Linked DNA regions of Homo sapiens: regions 2 and 3 are each linked to region 1. Evidence: promoter capture Hi-C in human tissues and cell types (Jung and others, 2019). All regions are on one chromosome and are shown on one strand. Each heading gives the region's core, a stretch centred on a gene start or on the middle of the fragment in contact. The rest is flanking DNA. Distances are from core to core; before and after follow the strand shown.

Region 1 (2,948 bases), core at 127-2,626:
AGGCTAGAAGCACTGACCCCAGAGGAACAGGAGATTTTGCAGTTCCTGCTAGATACCTTGGCTATACTTAAAAGCAGCGAGGACCTCACCATTAGTGCTGAGGCCCTGGGAAGCTAAGAGGCACCAGATGAGGCCTATGGCACTGCTGGGTGGACTAGGCACTTGTCTTTAGGAGTGCCTGGACCCCTCTGTATAAGCAGGGAAAATACAGAGCAACCAGAGGATCCTGGTTGGAAAAAGGGCAGGAAAAAGGGCTAGTACCCAGTCCCTAAATGAAGCATCCCGCCACCCTCCTGTGATTGCCAATAGGCTTCCACCTGACCCCAACTACCAAATAAGGCACCACTGCAAGGGTCAGAGTCCAAGAGTTGTGGCAATATTTCTGCCTCCTGGCTCAGGCTCTGACCCTAGTGCAAATGCCCCCACTACCTCATCCATGAAACCAGGGCTCCCAGGATGGTTCCCAACCTGGACTTGCAAACCTCTGACTAATGGGACCTTTGGTCAGAGCTGTGGAGACCACTCTGACCTCTCACTGAAGTCACAGACCCCTAGGGTTGATTTTGACCTGTGTCCTATAACCACCACCCCGTACTAGCCCAAGAGCATGGATAAAAAGACTGAGGTCCCAGACTCCTAGGCAAAAGGAAAGGGGTTCTGGGCAGTGTTAAGACTGGAAGCAGGACTTCCTTCCATTGAGGGGCTGAGGCTGGGCCAGTGACTATACCTGCCCCCACCTGCCTGAGCAAGTATACTCAGGCCCACAGTGGTATACTGGAGCCCCCAGACTCCATGTGCGCTTGGGCTTGCGTGCACCACTTGTGATCACGTGCACACCAGCCTTTCATGCCATGTGCCACAGGCCCTATTCTCAGGAAGAGAGGAAGGCCTGCTGTCCTCGGAGAAGATACCCTTACTGCAAAACAAAGGAGATCACCTGAGACTCCCTGTCAGGAGGCACTCCTCTTTCACCCTCTGGTCAGGTGTCTGGGACTGAAGTGGGCATTGTCAGTGGCTAAAGATAGATCAGAGGGTGGAAGATGGCCTGAACCTTGTCAGGAGCCCCTCCCAGATGTCAATGCACCACTAGCTCCCCTCAGAAAAGGTGTCAGATGACCCCTAATCCAGTCTTGGCCGGGCTCTAGTGAGTCCTTGCCTGGGGCCGCGTCAGAGGGCACCTCTGTTCTTCAGACTTCTGCACAGGGCCGAACGGGTTTGGAGCAGTCACCGCGGCCACCACCTCCAGGCAGTCCTCCTTGGTACCCAATCTGCTCCGCCCCCAGACTTTGTGGGGAAATGGGGTCTCAGGGGTCAAGGGTCGGTAGGGCGGGCTGGGTCCCGGAAGCGGAAGCGCAGTGCACTTCCGGCGCGCAGCGGGCGGCCATGTTGGAGCAGCGGAGGCGGCGCAGAGGCGCGTCTTGGGTCCCCGCGGCGGCGCCGGTAGGTTGGAGCCGCGGGCCTAGCCGCGCCGCGGAGGGGCGGCCCGCGAGGCGGCAGGGCGGACGGGCAAGCGGCCAACTCTTCCCGGACCCGCGTCCTCCGCCGGCCTGGCCGAGACCCCCCACCCCACCCCCACCCCGCGCCCAGCGACCCCACCCTGGGGCTGTGCGGTCCCGGTAGGGCTAGCACCGTTCACCCTGTACATTTCGCTGCCTCAGTGACCCCCGCCTCACGGCTTGGGCCCTAAGGACGTGCATTCCCAGCCTGAGGGCCCCGATCTGCCCCCTCCCCCGGTCTGCCTGTGTGGCGCCTCTCTCACGCCCTATCTTCCGTCAACTTCTCCTGCCTTCCCCGGGGGCACGTGTGAAGGGAAGTCGGAGGCCGGGCAGGAGCCTCTGTTTCCGAAGCTTCTCGAAAGCCCAGAAAACCCCTCCCAAGAGCCCAGCCTAACCTGGGTGGAAGAGCCCCCAGGTCACCCCAAATATTTGCGCTGGGGCGCGTGTGAGGGTGGGAAATAGGTCCCTCTCTCTTCTACAGTTCACAGCTCTGGGAACTACATCCCTTCAAAAAACATTAATAAAGAACTAAAGTCATGTGCAAGGATTGTGCTTGGAGAACGGTCTCTGGGGAGGGGAAGTGCCCAAGACACCTGAGGATCCAAGAATGTTTCCAAACAAAGAGCCCTAGGGCATTTCCTCCAGGGTATTCTGAAGACTTCATCTGCTGCATTAGAGCGGTGGGAAGAAACTACACAGACGGGCCTCATGGCCCGAGGGACCTGCCTGATCCTGGCTGATCTTTTAATGCTCTGGTGCAGCTGGGGAGCTGCCTCTTGCTTCTGGGAACCCTCAGTGTTGGGTTGGGTATTAGATGTTAGTTATGATTGATGTCCACAGCTTCTTTAAAGAAGTCTGGGAGTAGTTAGGTGTTCTCAGTCACCTCCATCTGGGCTGTACTGAGGTCTGTGGCCCTCCAAGTCTTAGGTAGGACAGTGCATACCGCTAATGTCCCCTTGACTCACCATCCTACTTGCAGCCTTTGGCTCCCATTGTCCTTAAACTTTGGGATCTTGGTCTGGCTTCCTGGTCCCTGGTCTGCCTGGTTGCCTAGAGAGATGTCATTGGCACCTGCTACTCATCAGCTTTTTAGTTTCTGTTGAAGAAAAGTCCGACTCTTGATTAGGTCTCCATGCCTCTGGAGCTAGAAAATGGGTTGCTGAGTACCCTGTCTAGAGACTGAAAACAGAACTTCTGGTGGGCAGGGAGATTCCCCCACCCCACTCCAGCTCCACACATGAACAGCAGCAGCTGGAGAAACAGATGGGCATGGACAGTGGGTGTAAGTCTGGGCCCTTTGGCTAACATTCAGGGTTCTTTGTTGCTCTATCCTCGCCTGTTTTTTCACCTAGATCCCAGATCCCACACCAAGTATGCCTTAACCCTTTCTCACTTTGGAGCCATTGCATTAGCTATTCCCCTTTTTGTTCCATTTCCATCTAATCATTTTTC
Region 2 (2,948 bases), core at 312-2,811, 320 kb before region 1:
TGCCTGTAGTCCCAGCTACTCCGGAGGCTGAGGCAGGAGAATGGCATGAACCCGGGAGGCGGAGCTTGCAGTGAGCCGAGATTAAGCTACTGCACTCCAGCCTGGGCGACAGAGCGAGACTCCGTCTCAAATAAAATAAAATAAAATAATAACAATAAAAATACAAAAATTAGCCCAATGTGGTGGCGCGCATCTGTAATCCCAGCTACTCGGGAGGCTGAGGCAGGAGAATTGCTTGAACCTGGGAGGCGGAGGTTGCAGTGAGCAGAGATCGTGCCATTGCACTCCAGGCTGGGTGACAAGAGCAAGACTCCGTCTCAAAAAAAAAAAAAAAAGCAGCAATGGCTTCCTGAGCTCCCAACCCCTTGGCACCCAGTGACCACAGCAAACTGGGCACAGAGACCACAGTAAGCCTGACACTGAGGCAGAGGACTGTGCCTTTGGGTACAGCCCACAATGGACCCCATTCTTCCTGGAAGCCCATAGCAGGATGGAAGTGAGGAGGCCAGGACATTCCTCCACCCCCTCACACAGATGTAAAGGGCACAGGCAGCTCAGGGCAGCAGAGCCCTCCACAGGAAGAAAGCATACGGAGCCATTTTTATCTTCAGCTATTAGAATCAAAAGGAGACTCTCTTCTCCAAAATAACAGAGGTACCATCTGATTAAATCAGGTAATCAGGTGGCCTACATAGGATATCCCTCTCTAGTCAGCAAAGTCCAACTAGAAGGGAAAAAGGCTCAGGGCTCTGAAGAGACAGGGGTCCCCACAGGACCTGTCAGGTTAGGGCTGGCACTACAAGCAGAAGAACCAACGTCTCCTGCTAAGATTTCTCCCCTACATGAAAGAATCTGGTCACTTTCTAACTACTTTTAAAATTGGAAAAAGCACATCCTCAGACTTGCAAACACAATGTTTTAGGACCATACTGTTGACCCTTCTGACAAAATATTATTCTATTTTCTAGGTAAGCAAACGCAACAGCTGGTAGCACAAACCCAAAGCAGAAGAGAGTCAGACAGGAATCCTACTGTTATCTATTTGTGACTTTAATGAATTCTATTTTTAGGTCTTTAATAAAGAGCCTCTCTTCTACTCTCTTCCTACCAAATTTCTCCACTCAGGCAATTCAATCGTTCCAACACTGCTCAAAAGTCTAAAAATATAAGACACTTCTGGGCCGGGTGTGGTGGCTCACGCCTGTAATCCCAACACTTTGGGAGGCTGAGGCAGGAGGATCCAGCCTGGGCAACATAGCCAAGACCACATCGCTACAAAAAAATTTAAAAATTAGCTGGGCATAGTGGCACGTGCTAGTAGTCCCAGCTACTCAGGAGGCTGAGGTGGGAGGATTGCTTGACCCTAGGAGGTCAAGACTGAAGTGAGCTATGATTATGCCACCACACTCCAGGTAGGCAACAGGGCAAGACCCTGCCTCTCAAAAAACAAAGAAAACACAATTTCTTCAATCATACCTCACATAAGAGGTAGAACTTACTCATTTTCTCCAAGACTTAGAATCCAGTCCCTGCTCAAGGGCTACTCATCAGACTGGTCTCCAATATAAAAAATCCTAGACGGCAACGTATCCCTGACCTCTGGCAGATTGGACACAGAGGTGACCTACAGTCCAGGCATGGTGGCTCACGCCTGTAATCCCAGCACTTTAGAAGGCCGAGGCAGGCAGATCATCTGAGGTCGCAGTTTGAGACCAGCCTGACCAACATGAAGAATCCCCATCTCTACTAAAAATACAAAAATTAGCCAGGTGTGGTGGCGCATGGTGTATCATTCCAGCTACTTGGGAGGCTGTGGCAGGAGAATCACTTGAATCTGGGAGGCAGAGGTTGCAGTGAGCTGAGATCACGCCACTGCACTCCAGCCTGGGCAACAAGACTAAAACTGTCTCAAAAGAAAAAAAAAAAAAAAAAGATGACCTACCAGCCCAAGCAGGAGTGTTTACAGGACATTTACAGTAATCACATGCATGTTTTATGGAAATATTCCATAGTAAAATCAGGGCCCAGAAAATGGATGTTATCCCAGGTTCTGATTAATAGCCAAATAAAAAGGAAATCTTATTTGGAATTCCATTATTGACTGGATCATTTTTCTTGGCAAAAGCTAGCTAGAGAATCAATCTATCCCTGGAGAACAACTGAGCTAATTAACAGAGGTGTTTATGACAACCAAGGCAGAACTGGTTCACTTCTGCCCTAGACAGCCTTGGGAATCTTAAGTAAATCTCCCATCAACCCCTAGGATGCCTGGGGGGGAAATCTTCACAGCACAGTGAAAAGGCTAAACACAGATACCTACAAAATCAAAAGAATTTGATTCCAATTCCACTACTTTGTTTTAATACATTTACAAACTCTTCCCTCGGTATCCATGAGGGATTGGTTCCAGGATATCAAAATCCACAAGTGCTCAAGTCCCTTATATAAAATGGTGTAATATTTGCATCATAATAAGGACAAAAACATGTAAGCAATAGAATCTACGTCATAATTAAGTTTAAGGGAAGGTACTGTGACTGGATGGACGTACACATAAGCCAGATTTATGTTTCTCTCCACCCAAACATCTCAGTGGAGTAAAGAATAACAAGGCAGCATTGCTGCAAACATGTCTCGCCTCCCCCCATAGGGCAGTTTTTCTCCTATCTCAGAATTGAACAAATGTACAATCAGGTTTTACACGGAGACATTCAGTTCCCAAGGGCAGGCAGGAGACAGTGGCCTTCCTCTATCTCAACTGCAAGCGGCTTTCCTCTTTTACTAATCCACCTCAGCATAGACCCTTTACAGGTGTCGGGCTGGGGGAAGGTCAGGTCTTTCTCATTCCACGAGGCTATATTTCAGACTATCACATGGGGAGAAACCTTGGACAATACCCCGCTTTCAAGAGCAGAGGTCCCTGTGGTTTTCCGCAATGCACTGTGTCC
Region 3 (2,948 bases), core at 337-2,836, 270 kb after region 1:
CCCTGGCGCAAGTCAACATCTCTGGCCATGGCTTTTAGCCTCCTTAAGGCTCCTTGTTTCTTCTTGCCCCCTGGAGTCTATTTTCACCCAGCAATCAAAGGGGGATCCTGATAACGATGTCAGACTATGTCGCTCCCCACTCAGTACCCTGCAATGACTTCTACGTCCTTCAGAGGAGAGACAGTGGCAAGATCTCGGTTCACTGCAAGCTCCGCCTCCTGGGCTCAAGCGATTCTCCTGCCTTAGACTCTCGAGTAGCTGGGATCACAGGCATAGGCGTCTGCCATTACGGCTGGCAAGTTTTTGTATTTTTAGTAGAGACGGGGTTTGACCATGTTGGCCAGGCTGGTCTTGAACTCCTGACCTCAGGTGATCCACCTGCCTTGGCCTTCCAAAGTGCTGGGATTATAGGCATGAGCCACTGCGTCGGGCCTTTAACTTTTTTTTTTTTTTTTTTTTTTTTTTTTTGTAGAGACAGTGTTTCGCTCTTTTTGCCCAGGCTGGAGTGCAATGGCACGATCTGGGCTCACCGCAATCTCTGCCTCCCAAGTTCAAGTGATTCTCCTGCTTCAGCCTCCCAAGTAGCTGGGATTACAGGCATGCGCCACCATGCCCCGCTAATTTTGTATTTTTAGTAGAGACGGGGTTTCTCCATGTTGGTCAGGCTGGTCTCAAACTCCTGACCTCAGTTGATATGCCTGCCTTGGCCTCCCAAAGTGCTGGGATTACAGGTGTGAGCCACTGGGCCCGGCCTAACTTTTTTTTTTTAGAGACAAGAGTCTCGCTATATAAGTCAGGCTGGTCTCAAACTCCTGGGTTTAAGCAATCCTCTCGCCTTGGCCTCCCAAAGAGCTGGGATTACAGACATGAGCCATAACACCAGGCCCAAACCTGTCTTCTAGTGCCTCCAAAACCTCTGTCGCCTCATCAGCTACTACCCTCCCTCTTCCTGTGGTTTCTCAAACATGTCAGGCACAGACCATCTCAAGGCTTTTGCATTTTCTTTTTCTTCTGGGTGGAAGGTTCCTCACCCTTGACCCTGTTATGTGTGAACAGAACTCCCTCTCTCATCTTCTCAGGTCTTGAATCCTGTCACCTTTTCAGTTAAACCCTCCCTTATTCAACGAACTAAAATTGCAAATCACTTGTCCCACACACCCTCTAACTCTCTTCCTGGATTTTTCTCCGTAGTACTTATTACTACTTGATACACTATGCATTTTTTAGTTATTTATCTTTGTTATGGTCTGTAAATTCCAGGAGGACAGGGACCTGTGTGTTGTACTACCAGGGGTGCCTCCAGCACCTAGAAGGACGCCTGGCATATGGCAGGGCGCAATTGATCTCTCTGGAGTGAGTGGATGAATGGGAGCTCAGAGGAAACATGGAAGTCTGGGAAGGCTTCCTGGAGGAATAGGCCCGCTGGCCCACACTCCCAAACCCCGCCCATGCGGCTTTGCGCTCTGCCACGCCCATCGAAGCGGGGCCGAGGCCGGAAGCAGCCCCGGGCGGAAGCCCTACCGTGCCAACTGGGCCCTCCTCCCGACCTGCCCCGGGCTCGTGCCCCGCCCACCCAAAAGTGGGTGAAAGGTCGGCGGCGCCGGCACTGCAGCTGGGGCTGAGAAGCCAGGACGGCCCGAGAACTGACAGACGGAGTGACAGACGGACTGACCATGGCCGACCAGCCAAAACCCATCAGCCCGCTCAAGAACCTGCTGGCCGGCGGCTTTGGCGGCGTGTGCCTGGTGTTCGTCGGTCACCCTCTGGACACGGTCAAGGTGCGGGAGGCTGGGTCGCAGGCTTTGGGGAGGAGGCCCGGGCGGGGCGCGGAAAGCATGGTCCCCCGCGAGGCGCGGACGCTGGGCAGAAGAGGGGCATGTGTGAGCTTCCGTGAGAAGTCTAGGGAATCTCTCTTTCAGGGGTGGGCAGGAAGCTGTACCTTGCGCCCCAAAGAGCCAGGCGGCGGCGCAAAGTGAGCAGCCTCTAACTGCCTGTCAAGAGCTCTGATGTAAAGTTCCCTGTCCCGCAGTCTCTTCTGACCCTGCGCCACTTCTTTAGGGATGGGAAGGAATAAACGTCTCTCCATAGTTTTGGTTTCAGCCAACACTAATATTATCGTTAAGGTTGAAACAGGTCCCCTGTAAAGCCTGCCCCAGGAAGACAACTAAAGACAGAGCGGTACGGTTGTTCTGGAGGTGTCCTTTGATACATTCCCCTGGGGCAAGAGTACCCATCTCTTTCGCACCTTTCCCGGCCCGGGGAGATACTTGACACTCTTCGGCCTGTCACCCAACGGTGGCCTGCTCAGCCTCCTGGGCAGAGGCATCCCTGTGAGAAGCAATGATGACCTCAGTGACCGAGCCCCTTCCACGGAAAGCAAGGTGATCAGCTTTGCACAAGGCCAGCCTCATTCTCACAACTCCCAGATGAGGAAGCTATGGTCAGACTGAGGCTTGGGAGGGAGGACGTTCATCAGGAATTGTTCTCTGGTCTTCCTCATATCATATCTCAACTATTCCCCTTGCAACACCTTCATTAATGCTTTGCTTGGGGACCAAAGTCCATCCCCCATGGCTTAGCACTCGAAGCTGCATCCAGTTTTCTCACTTTTTTTCTAGACGTAGACGTGAAGGAAATTGACAAGTCATTGCCAGGGTGGGCCTGTGGGGAGCAGACATGAGTTTTAAAAGATTGGAAGCCCATGTGAGGGGGTTTGTTAGGATGTTGGGTCAGATTTCTTCCACAGCGAAATAGTTTTGTGGGCACTTCCTCTTGGCCAGCTTGGGCAGCAAGCTCTTTGCTGCCTTTCATCCAAGAGAGGAGCTGCCCTGAAGTAGAGCTCATACTGGGGTCATTCTATAGGAAGACCAGGGTTAAAGTAGCTGGACTGGCTAGGTCATTGTGCAACATGAAATCAAATGTTTATTTAGCTGGTGGTAAATGCCATG

What was found. Contacts are between HindIII fragments. The study calls those that stand out against the background at their distance.
Region 2: a fragment that was not itself captured here is called in contact with the fragment with the promoter of CCDC71 in region 1 in 1 of the 25 tissues and cell types used here (dorsolateral prefrontal cortex).
Region 3: the fragment with the promoter of SLC25A20 here is called in contact with the fragment with the promoter of CCDC71 in region 1 in 1 of the 25 tissues and cell types used here (ovary).

What each region holds. Positions count from the first base shown.
Region 1 is chr3:49,164,759-49,167,706 of GRCh38, reverse strand. CCDC71 (coiled-coil domain containing 71) reads left to right here and starts at 1,376. Exons shown (of 2, transcript NM_022903.4): 1 at 1,376-1,440. RefSeq lists enhancers at 1,095-1,214, 1,235-1,304 and silencers at 1,455-1,534, 1,555-1,614. The HindIII fragment of the contact is 16,226 bases long and covers 1-2,948 here.
Region 2 is chr3:49,482,185-49,485,132 of GRCh38, reverse strand. All of the region lies in intron 1 of DAG1 (dystroglycan 1), which reads right to left. Among named protein-coding and RNA genes, the nearest start is that of DAG1, 13 kb to the right of the region's middle. The HindIII fragment of the contact is 9,505 bases long and covers 1-2,948 here.
Region 3 is chr3:48,897,520-48,900,467 of GRCh38, reverse strand. SLC25A20 (solute carrier family 25 member 20) reads left to right here and starts at 1,586. Exons shown (of 9, transcript NM_000387.6): 1 at 1,586-1,778. The coding sequence starts at 1,674. RefSeq lists a silencer at 1,846-2,035 and an enhancer at 2,616-2,665. The HindIII fragment of the contact is 14,411 bases long and covers 1-2,948 here.